Regions from separate parts of the Homo sapiens genome. Here region 2 is linked to region 1. The links are contacts of gene promoters, found by promoter capture Hi-C in human tissues and cell types (Jung and others, 2019). All regions are on one chromosome and are shown on one strand. The core of a region is centred on a gene start or on the middle of the fragment in contact, and the rest is flanking DNA. Distances in the headings are between cores, read along the strand shown.

Evidence for each region. The method cuts DNA at HindIII sites, captures the fragments that hold promoters and counts their contacts. A contact is called where the count stands out against the background at its distance.
Region 2: a contact is called between the fragment with the promoter of RPL3 here and the fragment with the promoter of PICK1 in region 1, in 2 of the 25 tissues and cell types used here (heart left ventricle and mesenchymal stem cells).

Annotation. Positions count from the first base shown.
Region 1 is chr22:38,055,313-38,060,155 of GRCh38, forward strand. PICK1 (protein interacting with PRKCA 1) reads left to right here and starts at 2,092. Exons shown (of 13, transcript NM_012407.4): 1 at 2,092-2,275; 2 at 2,441-2,538; 3 at 3,922-4,033. The coding sequence starts at 2,498. RefSeq lists enhancers at 1,544-2,169, 1,866-1,925, 2,170-2,793. The HindIII fragment of the contact is 14,484 bases long and covers 1-3,641 here.
Region 2 is chr22:39,317,352-39,322,194 of GRCh38, forward strand. RPL3 (ribosomal protein L3) reads right to left here and starts at 2,272. Exons shown (of 10, transcript NM_000967.4): 1 at 2,244-2,272; 2 at 1,049-1,241; 3 at 110-278. The coding sequence starts at 2,246. It overlaps SNORD43 (small nucleolar RNA, C/D box 43), which reads right to left and starts at 1,762; the gene lies at 1,701-1,762. RefSeq lists enhancers at 1,261-2,150, 2,017-2,066, 2,151-3,040, 2,457-2,876, 3,041-3,929 and 3 more. The HindIII fragment of the contact is 19,716 bases long and covers 1,274-4,843 here.

The DNA of each region.
Region 1 (4,843 bases), core at 842-3,341:
AGTGACAGCTGTGCCATGCAAATTGTTTACAAAGCACTCACACCTGTTTCTCCTTTTAATCTTTTGTTTCTGAGATGGAGTCTGGCTCTGTCACCCAGGCTGGCATGCAATGGCGCGATCTCGGTTCACTGCAATCTCCGCCACCCGGGTCCAAGCGATTCTCCTGCCTCAGTCTCCTGAGTAGCTGGGATTACAGGTGCATACCACCATGCCTGGCTAATTTTTGCATTTTTAGTAGAGACGGGGTTTCACCATGTTGGCCAGGCTGGTCCAGATATATGATCTAGATCTTATACCAACTCCTGATCTCATGATCCACACTCCTCAGCCTCCCAAAGTGCTGGGATTACAGGCGTGAGCCACCGCGCCCAGCCTCTCCTTTTAATCTTGACTTTCACAAATACCTGGTGGCAGGTGTCATTTCCCCATTCTACACGTACCTGAGGCTCAGAGTGAGACAGCGACTCACCCAAGATCTCCCAGCTACAAAATGGCAGAGCCTGGGCCTGAGCTAGCATGGTCATGGGCTGGAAGAGCCACAATCCATGTTAAGGCACCTGGGTTTGGAGACTGCTGCCTTTTTTTTTTTTGAAACGGAGTCTCTCTCTGTCGCCCAGGCTGGAGTGCAATGGCCTGATCTCGGCTCACTACAACCTCCCTCTCCTATTTTCAAGCGATTCTCCTGCCTCAGGCTCCCAAATAGCTGGAATTACAGGTGTGCGCCACCGCACCTGGCCTTAGACTGCTGCTTTTTGAAACCAAAATTCTGGCCTGGAAACAGAGCTTGGTTTTCCCAGCCCCAGCCCTGCCGCTATGATACCAGAGGAAGAGGCTTCCCAGGGCCTCCGTTTCCTTGCCTGCACAATGTGGCTGGCAAGATTTGGTCTTCTCTCACAGGGTGGTGGTGAGCTTTCAAATCCTGTGAAAGTGATCTCACAGGAGAGCAGTGGACACGTGGGAAGGCTGTTATTGTCACGGCATTCTGCACATCTGTCCGGACTCAATTAGCCACCTAAGGAGAGAGTAGGGCGGGGCTTCCACCGGCCGTGGGATATGTGGATAATCATCCTTCTGTATCTTTCTTCCATGGCTCCTGGGGCAGCTGGGGAAGCAAGCTGGATGGGCCTGGCCCCATGCTGCCGGATGAGGTGGATGCCTGGCTGTGGCTCTGGGAGAGCCAACCTCCCCCAGGGAACCCACTTTACACAATAGCAGTGGCAGCAGAGGCTGGCGAGGAGACAAGATTCGGACTCTGGGGAGCACTGATAGCATTTCCCGAGCCTCAGGTACATGCGGACCGTGACCCTCCCTGGGACCCCAGGGGGGCTGCTCCTCAGGACTAAGGAAGGAGGAGGGGGTGTGAGAAACCTTTCACCATATACCATAGAAAGCATTTACCTCAATGGCCTTGGTTTACATATGGGGAAACTGAGGCACATAAAGGGAAGGGAGCATGTCCAGTCTGTCCTTAATAGCAAGACCCACTGAATACACCTCTCCTGGCTCTCTGTTTAGTGTTTGGACGTTCAAAGATCCCTAGACTAGGCGGCGGGAGTTTCAGGGCCACGATCCAGATCTTACACCAACTGTGTGTGGCCCCGCACAAAATCACTCCCCGCTCTTTGGCACTTAAGTTGGCGAAACTGGGATGGGCTGGGACCTCAAAGGGCCATTCTAGTAGGGGAGTCACAGGCCCAGGTGGTGAAGGGGTGAAAGGGCATGATGTCTTGGGGTTTATAGTCCACTGAGCCTCGCCGGAGGTAACCCCGGCTCAGGGATGCTTTCGTTGCCATGGCAACCGCCGGGCCGGCGCGGGCCCCTGAGTGCAGCTGAGGAAGCTGGGACAAACCCTGCCCTTCCCAAGATGGCGGCGGCGGCAGGGCAAAGGGCGGGGTTAGACGCTGTCAGCCTGTCCAGACCGTTCCTCTGTTTTCGCTTGTTCCTACTAACAGCGAGCTTCCGCCAATACTTGTTCTCGTTCTTGGTTCCGAGCGTCCCGGGAGCCGGGAAGGGAAGGATTGTCTGCAGGGATTGGAGCAAATATCCAGTGGGGGGAAAGCCGGGACTTCCGCGTCTTGCCGGAAGTGACGTGACAATCGCGGCCACCGCCAGGTGGAACGGCAGGTGGGTTCAGGTACCAGCCTGGCCGGGACCCGGCTGTGGGACCAACGCTTCCGGTGAGCGACAGAGGCAGCTCCCCAGGGCCTGGAGACCCGTGGGGCGGACTCTGGGATCTGAGCCTATCGCCCTGGCCTGGAGCCCCCCTTTGTACCTAGTAAGAATCACCTACCCAGCCCCCCACCCGGAGACTGTCCCATCCCACTCCAGAGGGAAGAGGAGGGCACTGCTGTCCCGTATGAGGTGGTGGAGGGAGGGGTGGCGTTGGCATTTAGGCACTTGGGTTCCTTAAATCCTATGCTCCTTTCTCTCCCGGATCCAGTTCCCCATTCCCCTACCGAGCTGGGCAGTTAGCCAGCCCACTCCAACTCTCGGAACCATGTTTGCAGACTTGGATTATGACATCGAAGAGGATAAACTGTGAGTATTTTATTCCCCCAAGTTCCAGCAGTATAGGAGCCCCAAGTTCCTCATTTCCCTGGACTTCCCAGTCCCACAGACCCTTGCTTCTCAGCGGTGGATCAGTTGTTGTACTGAAGCAGCAATGGACCCTGCTCTCCCAGGAGCTCACTATTTGTAGGGGGCTGTGGACAGTTAAAGGGATAATCACAGCTCAGTGCCATAAGGGCACTATTAGCATGACTTGGTGACAAGAAGAGCAAAGCAGATGGAGCAGTGCTTCTGCTGGGATGGTCAAGGAAAGCTTCATGGAGGACGTAGCAATTGAACCAGGTTTTGAAGGTTGAATAGGAATATTGTAGACACCCTTCCTTCCCAACATAGGTTGTTAGTAGGACAGATTTTCCCATTAGAATATATCCTCTTTCAGATCAAGGAGTGGGTGCAATGCCTTTCTCTATGCTCAGCACTTAGTAAGGGACTTGACGTCAGTAGGTTGTTAGCGAATGTTTTTTGAATGAATAAGTGAATCAGCGTGAGTACTTATCATAAAACACCAGTCAATGCTAATTTATAGTGGAAACCGAGAGGTAATCGAGCAGTTGAGAGGTGGGAGGTGGACAGTTTAATAGAGGAAGACTCCCTGGAGTAGGTGGCCATCATACTACATAGATGCCTGATAAGGTGACAAGGACAGAACCTGGCTCAAATCTCAGAGATCGAATAAATGAAAGGGAAGGGGGACCTATTTTTATGGAGTGCCTGCTATGGACTGGGTTGCTGTTAGTGCCCTCCATGCATGGTTAGAAGAACTCTGATAAGGGTGCTCATCCACATTTTATGGATGAGGAAATTGAGATGCACAGAGGCTGACTTACCCAAGTCCCATAGCTGGCCAGGCACGGTGGCTCACGCCTGTAATCCCAGCACTTTGGGAGGCTGAGGCAGGCGGATCAACTGAGGTCAGGAGTTCAAGACCAGCCTGGCCAACATGGTGAAACCCCGTCTCTACTAAAAATACAAAAAAATCAGCCAGGCGTGGTGGCAGGCACCTGTAGTCCCAGCTACTTGGGCGACTGAGGCAGGAGAATCACTTGAACCCGGGAGGCGGAGGTTGCAGTGAGCCGAGATTGCGCCATTGCACTCTAGCCTGGGCAACAAGAGTAAGACTCCATCTCAAAAAAAAACCAAGTTCCACAGCTGATAAATGGCAGAGCTGGGGTTTGATCCCACATCTGCTTAACTCCAAGAGCTGTGCATGTTCCAGCACAAAATGTTGTTTTGTCCAAGGGAGGGAGAGAAAAAGCTGGGCAGCCAGTGGAGCCCCTCAGGAGTTTTAGAGGGCCCACCCGCTCCAGTCATCCTTCTGCCAGGAGAGTCAGCCTAGCTTGCTTTCCTTTCTAGCGGAATCCCGACTGTGCCTGGGAAGGTGACCCTGCAGAAGGATGCTCAGAACCTGATCGGGATCAGCATTGGAGGAGGGGCCCAGTACTGTCCCTGCCTCTATATCGTCCAGGTATTGGGCGCTTTGGAGGGGGGCACAAGGTACATCCCTACTTGGGCATGACAAAGGCAGGTTCATTTCTCCACACTGCATAGCTGACTCCTTCTCATTCTTGAGGTCTGACCCTCTCAGAGGGGCTTTCTGACCACCTGCGCTGCGTTGCTCTGCCCTGTCTTCTCCCCTGTGTCGCTCTGTTTTTTTCCTTCTCGGCACTTATTACTTGTTATTTGCCCTCTGTCTAGTAGAGTAGACTCTTTGCACTGAGGGCAGTGTCCTGGTTTGCTTTTTCACTGCAGTAAGCACCAGGTACAGTGCCTGGCACATAGTGGACATGCAATAGAAATTGACTATTGAATCAACAAAACCATCAGCCTTGCGTACTAGCCAAAATGAAGTGTCATAGGAACACGATGAAATAATGGCCTGAGTTCAAATGCAAGCTTCTTTCCTACTTACTAGCAAGTTACTTAACCTCTTTGGGCCTCAGTTTCATCACCTAGAAAGCGGGGATTTAAAACATGTAGACACAATCATCTCTGGGTTCTTGTGAGAAGTCAACAAAACGACCTAACACACTAGAAGTTAAGAAACGTGCATTGGCCAGGCATAGTGGCTCACACCTGTAATCCCAGCACTTTGGGAGGCCGAGGTGGGTGGATCACGAGGTCAGGAGTTCGAGACCAGCCTGGCCAACATGGTGAAACCCCGTCTCTACTAAAATACAAAAATTAGCTGGGCGTGGTGGTGCACGCCTGTACTTCCAGCTACTTGGGAGGCTGAAGTAGGAGAATCGCTTGAACCTGGAAAGTAGAGGTTGCAGTG
Region 2 (4,843 bases), core at 1,022-3,521, 1.3 Mb after region 1:
AGACAGCAGCTCCCTGCCTGCTACAGAGCTGAGAAACCATGCACACGCTGCTCCCTGCTCTCCAGCTCCCAAGCTCCCAAGCTAGGGACTGCATGGCCTCCTCCCTTACCAATTCTTATAGAAACGCCTCTTGCATTCATCACTGATGTGCTCAGCAAAGACAGTCTTGAAGGTCCGGAGGCCTCGAGGGGTTTCCACGTAGCCCACAATGCCCACAACCACCATGGGTGGTGTCTCTACAATGGTCACAGCCTCCACCACCTCCTTCTTGTTCACCTCTGCAAAAAAAAAGCAGTAGTCAGACTTGGCAGGAGCCCAAGCAAGGGGTGTAATGTTTTCTAGGAAAATGCAAAGTGCCCATTTAGGCCGGAAGGGCAACTGGGCCCCACACCTGCAGTACGGACTCACAGGGCTGTCCTTACTGCCTATCTCTCATTCAAAGCACATTTATGTTATTCAAACAAAAAATATCAGGACCCTAGACAGCCAAATACCTGTCCAGCTTCAATTCTCTTCTACAGAAACCTCTGGAGGCAGACAAGATTGCTATTTATCTGGAAAATTCAGTGCCCTAACAATAGCTCTGAGCTCAGAGATTAGTCAGTATCAACTGCCTAACATTAATGTCTCCATGGCTCAGCAACCAGTGCTGTTAGACATCTCTAAGTAGAACACACACAGGTAAGTGGCCATTATTCAAGCTTTCAGGTGAAAAAAACATGAATGAGGCAGTTCTTATGCCAGCCTCAGCAGCTCCAACCCCCCACACTAGTGTTAACTTCTCTTTGCTAAGGTTCCTGGCAAATTTACTATGCTCTGAAATCAATACCCCACACCGCACCTAAAGCAAACAGTGCTGACCATCTGTAGCCTTGGAATATTAGTTTTCAAGTTAAGCATTCCCATTCTGCTGTCGCAGCAGTTCTGACAACGTGTAACTCCTGCTTAAAAAAAAAAGTCTGCCCTCTGCTAACAGCTTGACTCCATCTCTACAATTTCCCTCCCCCTCCACTCCTATTCCCCCAACTTTTAGGATGTCTGTACATACTGGATCCCGGCCTGTCGACTTCCCGCACGATGTGAGTCATGCCAGCCTTGTATCCCAGGAAGGCTGTGAGGTGGACCGGCTTGGACGGGTCATCCTTAGGGAAGCTCTTCACCTTCCCACGATGCCTGCTGCTGCGCTTCCGAGGCAGGAAGCCGAGGGACCCATGTCTGGGAGCGGAGAACTTTCTGTGAGACTAGGTGGGAAAAAAATCACCGTCAGCACCCAAACCAAAGCAGTGCCCCCTTCTCTAGTTCCCAGCTGCTTAAGTTCCAAATCTCAGCAATACTGAAGAATCCTGACCAGACACCCAGCAAGCCGAATAAAAAGGTCATTATCTCTTCCAGGCTCGCACGTGTCAAGAATGCTTTTGTATTCGACAAAATTTAAGCTGAATCTTATTTCAAATCCTCTCAACCTGTAAGAAAACGACCCATTTTTTTTATCTAACCACACAAAAATACACTAAGTAGTGGCACTAAAAACTGCTTAACAGGCAGCTTTATATGCCAATTAGCAAGGTTTTGACCGCTAAAGAAAGGGACTCCCGGGACAAACGCTGGGTAGCAGCTAGCAATGTTAAGCTATAGGCTGCCTCCGGTGCCCGGACACTAATTACACTGATACACACAGGCCAAAGAACTCCGCAGAGCCAAATCAGAACGTGACAATCAGCACACAGTTTCTGTCCGCCCGTCAATAAGTTCATCATCTGTGGTTTCTGCGAGCTCCAGAGGCCTTCGGAGTGCACCAGCGGCCCCAGATATTCAGGAGGACTCCACAACACTCCCCTCCCCCAAGCTTCTTTACCTCCCAATGAGAACGGCGCCGAGAACCTCCACCCAAGGTCCTTCTACCCAGACAAGCAGGTTATGGGCCCTAATCCCAACTAATGATAGAATTGGTGAGGTCGAAACTTAGAAATGACTCATGGCTTTAAAAACGCCGGGCCTCCAAGCCTGCTCCCACCCTTACGGCCTCTCTCTGGCCGACCTGCAGGCCCAAAGCCAGTCCTCCAAGCGCTCTTCACAAGCCTCTCGACTTTCCAGAAAATAGGCCAGACTGAAGTCCCCGCTGGGTCGCCCGTGCCCCTAAAGCAAACCCCCGGCGCCGGCCAAGACGGGATGGCGGCGATGCGTCGCGGATTCAGCCGTGCCGACGCCGGTGACAATGAAACGGCCGCCATTACAACACATACCATCACGCCATCAAATCCCGCCGGTAGAGGCCGGTCGGCCTTACGGGTCCGCTATATAAAGCCAAATCTGGCCCCGCCCCTTCCGGCGTGCGAGCGCGCCCCCGCGGCAGACGACAGGTCGGGGGCACGTACCGAGCGCCATTTCCACGCACGCTCTTCCGCTCCTAGCTTTCGTTCAGAAGTTGACGTCAGCTTCGGAGACAGAAATTACACACTCTACGGCGAGGGGTCGGGTTCAAACTTAGTGAAAAGCCGCGGAGAGGTGGGCTAAGGGTGGGTGAGCCACAAATCTACGGCGTCCGGCAGCAGCCAAATTTGATAATAACGAAGAAAAATGGCTGCGTCGCTTCTCCTCCTGTGATATGCAGCTATCTCTGGAATTAGCGAAGAAAGACTGAAACTCTCGTTTCCTGGCTCCCACGCTGGTTTTGCGGCGACACCAATTTACCTTTAATACCTTTAATCTCGGGCATCCCTCCCTCAAGCCCTATCTCTGCCATTTCTCCCATGCTAATGCAGTGGCCCGCGCTTGATTCTGAGGGTCAGGAGCGTCCCAAGCCTGCGGAACGGCCTCACGACCTCTGGTCATGCCGAGTCCAGCTGCTCAGCCTCCCGGAGCCCCACGCCTTCCAGACCTATGCATCAGCGAGGGCTTTCGCTGATCTCTGCCTAGGCTCCAGGGTGACTCGGATCCTGACCGATTCCCTGCTTCCAGGCTGGTCCCTTACAAATCTCTTTTTTGAGACGGAGTCTCGCTCTGTCGCAGTGGCGCGATCTCAGCTCACTGCAAGCTCCGCCTACCGGTTCCCAGTTCAAGCAGTTCTCCTGCCTCAGCCTCCCGAGTAGCTGGGATTACAGGAATGCGCCACCATGCCTGGCTAATTTTTTTTTTTTTTTTTTTTGTATTTTTAGTGGAGACGGTGTTTCACCATGTTGGCCAGGCTGGTCTTGAACTCCTGATCTCGTGATCCGCCCGCCTCGGCCTCCCAAAGTGCTGGGATTACAGGTGTGAGCCACCGCGCCTGGCCCCCTACAAATCTTTCTAAGAATCAAGTATCTCGTTACTTTCCATGGCCGCCTCGTTGTTTCCTCGGAATTAAGCATCAACTTCAGCGGCCACCAAAGACGCTCCCCTAACCGTCTACTTCAGCCTCATGGCTGCGCCAGAGCACACGCTCTCATATCACCTGCTTCCTCTGTCCCACCCTGTCATCTTCTTTAATTCTGGGCCTGGCCTTTGCTCCCACCGTCGTTTGAAAAGCATTCTCTCGGCCAGGCGCGGTGGCTCACGCCTGTAATCCCAACACTTTGGGAGACCGAGGCGGGCGGATCACCTGAGGTCAGGAGTTCGAAACCAGCCTGGGCAACATGGCGAAACCCCGTCTCTATTAAAAATACAAAAATTAGCGGGGCACGATGGTGTGCGTCTGTAATCCCAGCTACTTGGGAGGCTGAGGCGGGAGAATCGTTTGAACCCGGGAGACGGAGTTTGCAGTGAGCTGAGATTGCGCCAGTGCAATCCAGCTCAAAAAAAAAAAAATTATCTCAATCCTCACACCATTCCCGAAGGACATAAGTGATAGATCTTCAATCCATTATTAGAAATCCTGGGGGCCACATATGTTTCAAAATTGAGCATTTTTTGATTTTTAGAAAGGTAATATGGTGCACATACTGTATATTATGTAATACAGCACTTTTTAAAGAAAAACAATATTCCGTAAGGAAACATGAATATTCACATGGAGTGGGACAAATATAAATAGACTCACATCAGTTCAAGGCTGACTTTGCTGCTCAAAAAATGCATCAGTTTACTTTTTGCTGCCAAATAATTTAAGAAGGTTTTTAAAATTTCAGGATACAGGCCAGGCACGGTGGCTCACACCTGTAATCCCATCACTTATGGGAGGCTGAGGAGGGTGGATCACTGGAGGTCAGGAACTTGAGACCAGCCTGGCCAACACAGTGAAACCCCGTTTCTCCTAAAAATACAAAAATTAGCAGTTGTTGTGCACGCCTGTAGTCCCAGCTACCCCGGAGGCCGAGGGAGGAGAATTGCTTGAATCCGGGAGGCAGAGGTTGCAGTGAGCCGAGATCGTGCCATTGTGCTCCAGCCTGGGTGACCAATCAGGATTCTGTCTCAAAAAAAAAAAAAAAAAAAAAACAAGACCAGGCGTGGTGGCTCATGCCTGTAATCCCAGCACTTTGGGAGGCCAAGGTGGGTGGTTCACCTGAGATCAGGAGTTCGAGACCAGCCTGGCCAACATGGTGAAACCCCGTCTCTACTAAAAATACAAAAATTAGCCAGGGGTGGTGGTGGGCGCCTGTAATCGCAGCTACTTGGGAGGCTGAGGCAAGAGAATTGCTTGAACCTGGGAGATGGAGGTTGCAGTAAGCCAAGATTGCACCATTGCACTCCAGCCTGGGTGAGAAAAGCAAAACTCCATCTCAAAAAAAAAAAAAAAAAAAAATTTCAGGATGCAGACAAAGGATTATAACCTACCCATATTGCCCCCCGCCCTTTTTTTTTTCCGATACGGAGTCTGGCTCTATCGCCCAGGCTGGAGTGCAGTGGCGCACAGTGGCACTATCTCGGC